Regions from separate parts of the Homo sapiens genome. Here region 1 is linked to region 2. The links are contacts of gene promoters, found by promoter capture Hi-C in blood cells and fetal thymus (Javierre and others, 2016). All regions are on one chromosome and are shown on one strand. The core of a region is centred on a gene start or on the middle of the fragment in contact, and the rest is flanking DNA. Distances in the headings are between cores, read along the strand shown.

Region 1 (2,700 bases), core at 168-2,667, 7.1 Mb after region 2:
ATAAGCCACAAAACAGGGAAGGTGGTACTGAATTCAGAGTTTATGAGATTTCCAAGAAGAATTAAACATATTTCCCACAGACTTGTGAATAAATTTCCAGAAATACACAGTACTTCTTAGCAAACGTTGGGTAGCTTAGCTTCGGCTTGATAAACTGCACTTATACGGAAACAAACGCACAATCGCTCTGGTGCAAAAGTAAAAACTGTGATTGGAGTCTGTATTTAAACGTAAGATTCCTCTCTAGCTCTCTCTGAAGAAGTTATTTTCTCTAGCACGTGGTAGAATTCATTCCATTAACCTTTGTAAAGTGCTTAATCCCGTGTCACGCACTGTACTAGGGTCTAGCGAGTGACAGATGTCACGGTACAGAGATCTCAGTGGGTCGCTGCCCTCCAGGAGCTTATAAAGAAAATTTTCCTTCTGCAGTTTTCAGCCGGCTACACCCAGTCCCCTGCAAGTAATTTTCAGTGAAAAAAACCCGCATCTTTTTCCTAGTCCTTGCAAATATTCTGGCTTTCCGAGATCTCTTCGCCTTGAATACCGAAGTCACTCCGGGATCTCTCTCTGGACGTTTGGCAGTTATTCCAGATGTAGCCGAATGACCGGCTTGCCCTTTCCCTGCGGAGTGACAGGAAGACAGCGACCCCGGAAAGTTTCCAGCACTTAAAACGCAAAGCGCAGCCTGAACCCACAAGGAGCCGACAACTCTTGCGGCTTCCACCACCCTTCTATCGCGGAGCCTAAGGAAGCTAAAGCAGTCGGGTCAGACCCGGCCACCGGGCAGCGCATGGTTCCGGGCGCAGGGAGCGACAGACTCAGCCCCCCAGCGGCGCGGCGCAGAGAAGTTGCAGGCCAGCCTGCATACCCAAGTGCGGGGGGGAAGAAAAACAAACAAACAAAAAAAATCCTTTCTTCTGGACTACAATGACCGGCAAGCAACGCGCCACGGCGCCAAGTTCAGCTTCGGGATCCTGGCGAAATGGAGCCTGGGAAGTGAAGTCTCCGGACTGTCGGAGTCCCGTAGTGAAGGCAGAAAGTAGGCGTTGCTAGTCCGCTCCACTAGCACGCCGGTTCCTGGCTGGGCTCCGGGTCTCTCGCTCCCGCTCAGGGTTTTCGCGGGCGGCGGGAGCGGTATGGCTCGCCTGAGTAAACTCCAGCGGGAGGGGGAGGAGGGTAGTGGGTGGGGAGGCGGGGTCAGCGGAAGCGGCAGGTTGCTTCCTTCTCCTCTGGCTCCCTCCCCGCCTCTCCCTGAGGGAGCGGTGGGAGGGGGAGGGCAGGGCAGAGGGAAGGTAGTGACACGTGTCAATCAACCCCCCTCCGGGGGGCGCGCGCTCCGGGGCTCGCGCCGAGGGCTCGCGCCCCTGCCTCGTGCCTGCGCTGCTCGTATGTAAATGAGGGCGCGTGACGCGGGACGCAGATGGACAAGGGAAGAGAGAGAATGGCCGCTGCCGCCGCCGCTGCTGCCGCCGCCGCCGCCGCCGCTCAGTGCCGGAGCCCTCGGTGCGCGGCGGAGAGAAGAGGATTCCGGCGGGAACTCGACTCTTGGCGCCACCGCCTCATGCACTGTGTAGGTAAGAGAGACGCGGGCCGGGGCCCCGGGCTCCGCGCGGCGACCGCTGTCGCAGCCCGAGGAGTTTGTGGCTGAGGGGTTTAGTTGAATCTCCCGTTCGGGTTAGTTCGGTGGGGGAGCGAGATGGGAGCGGCGCGGCGCGGCGGCCCCGGCGCTCGCCTTTTGTCTTGCGGGCTGCTGGCCCGGCGCGGTCCGCGCTCCTTCGCCTTCCCAGCTCTTGGGCTCCCCGGGAACTGTTAGTTTGGACCCGCTTGCTGAGCCCCCGCGGAAGCCGCCCGCTCGCTCTCTCCCCGAAACTCCTCGGCGCCCGTCGCTGCCCGCCGTCGCCCGCCGTCCACCCTGACAGGACGGAGGAAGCGGCCCGGTGGGTCGGCGCCCTGGCGGAGGAGAGCCGGCGGGCAGGGCGGCCGGAGGAAGGCGGGCTGGTCCGCGCCCCCGCCGAGCGCACACACACCCCCTTGTCGCCGCCGGGGGCCGGGTGAGCAGACGCGGCCAGTTCCCGGGGACCTGGACCTGGAGACCCACGGGCACTCGCAGGGCGGGGGCCGCTGATGGGCCGGCTGGGGGCGAGGGGCGGCGGGGGCGTCGTCCGAGGGGCGGGGGGCGCCCAACTCTGCCCTCTCGCGCTCGGCGGCGGCGCTGTGTGTACCCCTTTAAGAAGGAGCCGCTTGAGCGCTGACGGTTGGGATTTGAAGTTCTTCCTCCCTCTTTGGAAGTCTGGACGGATGGGGGGTGTTGCCACGGCAACGACACCCTCCCCCCCGTCTGCTTGCGGACGCCCCGACGACTCTGGTCCTCTTTCACTGTCATGTGATGGACTCTTCCTTACACACACACACACATATACACGCATACGCATCGCCCTCCCCACCTCCCATCCCCATTCAACTGCAATTCCCTCTTTTTGGTTGGATCTGAATCGTTTTGCCTCAAACTTCTGGGCTTGGGGCTCTCACCCTGTGGATTGTTTAGGGTGACAGGAATGGTGGGACTCCCGACCTTGCTGCAGTCGCTTTTTTTTTTTTCTTTTTTTGCCTAAGACGAATGCATAGAGCTGTTATCCAGCAGGTTGGTTTAGTGGGCTTAGAGGGGCGAACACGGATTATGGAATGGGGCGCGTTGTGGGT
Region 2 (2,988 bases), core at 31-2,530:
TGCCGGCTGTGCAGAAACAGACCAGTATTCCGACAGCAGGCTTGCAGCAGAGAAAGTTTTAATAATCACAAGTTACAAGCCAGGAAACAGGAAGAGTTCTCAAGCTTCAATCCATTTCATCAAGGGGTTCTAGGCAAAGTTTTTTAAGGGGATTTGTGGAGGGTGAGGGGCTGGAAAATTTGGGGTTATCGATTCGTTGGGGTAAGGGAGATGAAATCATTAGGATGTGACAATTGCATTCCTCCATGAATCAGCTTTTTATTGGGCCTTCCAGACAAGTTGGCGTCCTTAGTTTTGTTGGTATGCGGGACCTAAAGAAGCAATGCAAACAGAAAGCTTATCTTCTCATAATGTCTTAGATTTTATCTTCAGAGCAGAAAAAGAATGAAGAGTCTTGTGACAAGGGCCACATTCTCCTGGGGTAGTAAGTAGCAACCAGCTACAAGAAAGTCGGCCACACTGCAAGCTGGCTTAATAACAGCAGCTGTAAGCCTAGTTGGATTTTTTTCCCCTCCTTAATCAATTTTACAAAATGTTCTTGGGGATAGTTTCAGAATGGTCAAACTAATTCATTAATTCAATATCAACTTTTTTTTTAGGCCCTACTTTATTCTGGGCACTGTTTTAGGTGCCCGGGGGAAGGGGGCACCGCAGCAAAAACCGAGGTCCTGCCGTTAGGTTAGAGAGTTTACATTCATGGGTATGGGTGTGTGTGTGTGTGTGTATAAACAAACGTCTGGCATGTCACGTGGTGAGTAGTAAGTGCTATGGCTAAACAGTAGTGTCAAGGGGAAAATGAGTGGGGCACTGCTATTTCCTATGGGGTTGTGAGGCAGTAATAAGTGTGGAAATGTATCAAAGTAAAGATCGAAGGTTCTGGCATCTGACAGTTTGAATAAGGCGGAAGCACAGACCCTGCACAGATCTCAACCATCCAACAGGACTGAAACACAGAACTTGGAAAAACCCACGTACCTGCTTCTTACTCTGCTCGCCCGGTCTGCACAAGTGCAAAATCCTTTCCTGAAGTTTGTGTCAGGAACACCAGGGTTTAACTAGACGAATCAGCCGCAGCGGGGCGGGGCTAATTTCAGTCCTTCCTTTGCCAAAAGTCAGCGAAAAGCGCGGACTCCCTCGCGCATGCTCAAATACGCCAACTTCCTCCTGGAGCGCCATCTGAGAAGGTCTGCGCATGTGCACGAACGAGAAGTGTTTTTTTTGTTTTGTTTTGTTTTGTTTTGTTTTTTGTCCCAAGGCGCTGCCGTACCGTCCAGGCGGCGAGTTGCATTCTGGTTCCGTCGTGTGTCTGGCGTGTGGAGCTAGTGCTCCCGCTTATTCGCCACTGTCGCCACCGCTGTCATGAACCGCGAGAGCTTCGCGGCGGGAGAGCGGCTGGTGTCGCCGGCTTACGTGCGGCAGGGCTGTGAGGCCCGCCGCTCGCATGAGCACCTCATACGGCTGCTTCTGGAGAAGGTACCGAGCTGTCGGTCCCCTCCCCAGCCGCCGCGACCCCGGGGCTCTGGCTCCGCCGGGCGTCCCCGCTGGTGCTGCCTCACCGGCAGCTCTTCGCTGCTTGAGACTAGTCCCAAGTCTGTCTCAGCTTGGCTTGCCCTAGCTGACCGACTGCGGTCTGTGCCTTCTCAGCCTTGCCAAAGCCAGTGAAAGCCAAATGGTGTTGTTAGGAGGGGGTGTTGGGGTCGGGGTTTTGAGTCCCGCTGTTTCTAACTTCGGGATGCGGAAGTGAGGGAAAGTCCCAGTGTACTTTTTTATTCGCGGAAAGGGCAAAGTTCGCACCTCCATCTTTCACCAACCCTCAACGACTCAGAACACATAATGGTGTTTGTAGACTGTATGCTAACTCGAACCACGAGCTTTCCGCGGAACTTCACAGGTCTCCCTCCTGCCAGCGTTCATGTATTTTAATTTCATTAAAAGTTTTGTTGTGTTTTGTTTTTTTGAAACAGAGTCTCGCTCTTTCGCCCAGGCTGGAATGCAGTGTGACGATCTCGGCTCACTGCAGCCTCCGCCTCCCGGGTTCACGCCATTCGCCTGCCTCAGCCTCCCGAGTAGCTGGGACTACAGGCGCCCGCCACCACACCCGGTTAATGTTTGTATTTTTAGTAGAGATGGGGTTTCACCATGTTGGCCAGGCTGATCTCAAACTCCTGACTTCAAGTGATCGGCCATTCTTGGCCTTCCAAAGTGCTCGGATTACAGGCGTGAGTGAGCTACAGCGCGTGGCCAAAATTTCACTGAAGTTTGACAACTACCGCCCTTCTCCACGTCCCACCGCCCCAGTCGTAACGCCCTGGTTTGAAGCATCTTCACTGGGGATGTGTTGTATTGGTTTTCAGTTAGTTTCACTTACGGAAATTTAAATATCTCAGTAAACCTCATTGTATGCATTTATCATCACTTCTCGAAATCTGTAAATAATTGTAATCAAATGTACAAACGTTTTGCCTCTTTGCGGTCTCTATACAGTGGTGAATTTATGCTTGAATTTTAGAAAACAAGCAGCGTGGCAAAATACACGTTAAAAAGAAAAACTGTATTCCTGTAGTATTCTAGAGAACGGTAGTTTTATTAAATATAATCATAAGTTTTTTTTTTTTTTTAAGGGCAAGTGTCCAGAGAATGGCTGGGATGAAAGTACACTTGAACTCTTTTTACATGAACTTGCAATCATGGACAGCAACAATTTCTTAGGCAATTGTGGTGTGGGAGAAAGGGAAGGGAGAGTGGCATCCGCACTGGTTGCTCGTCGTCATTACAGGTATCTTTTTTTAAGTAGTACAGGAGATACATCGTTTATTTATTTTTGGTTCAAAATAATGGCAGCAGTATTTATCTTATTAGATTATCAAATGTCAGTTTGTAAACCACTTCTTCCCTGCTCTAATGGATATGTAAGCCAAATGCAACAGGGAGATGGAAACAATTTTATCTCAGCAGGTGCTTTTCAAAGACAATAGAGTAAAAACTAAG

The links. Contacts are between HindIII fragments. The CHiCAGO score rates a contact against its expected background, and 5 or more counts as called.
Region 1: the fragment with the promoter of LCORL here is called in contact with the fragment with the promoter of SEPSECS in region 2 in 1 of 17 cell types (non-activated CD4 T cells); the score reaches 6.3 in non-activated CD4 T cells.

Annotation. Positions count from the first base shown.
Region 1 is chr4:18,020,472-18,023,171 of GRCh38, reverse strand. It overlaps LCORL (ligand dependent nuclear receptor corepressor like), which reads left to right and starts at 1,417. Exons shown (of 8, transcript NM_001394446.1): 1 at 1,417-1,574. The coding sequence starts at 1,421. RefSeq lists an enhancer at 786-1,045 and silencers at 1,096-1,555, 1,876-2,205. The HindIII fragment of the contact is 12,000 bases long and covers 1-2,700 here.
Region 2 is chr4:25,158,741-25,161,728 of GRCh38, reverse strand. It overlaps SEPSECS (Sep (O-phosphoserine) tRNA:Sec (selenocysteine) tRNA synthase), which reads left to right and starts at 1,280. Exons shown (of 11, transcript NM_016955.4): 1 at 1,280-1,473; 2 at 2,622-2,776. The coding sequence starts at 1,360. SEPSECS-DT (SEPSECS divergent transcript) reads right to left here and starts at 1,057. Exons shown (of 2, transcript NR_037934.1): 1 at 976-1,057. RefSeq lists an enhancer at 1,017-1,316 and a silencer at 1,427-1,596. The HindIII fragment of the contact is 2,962 bases long and covers 339-2,988 here.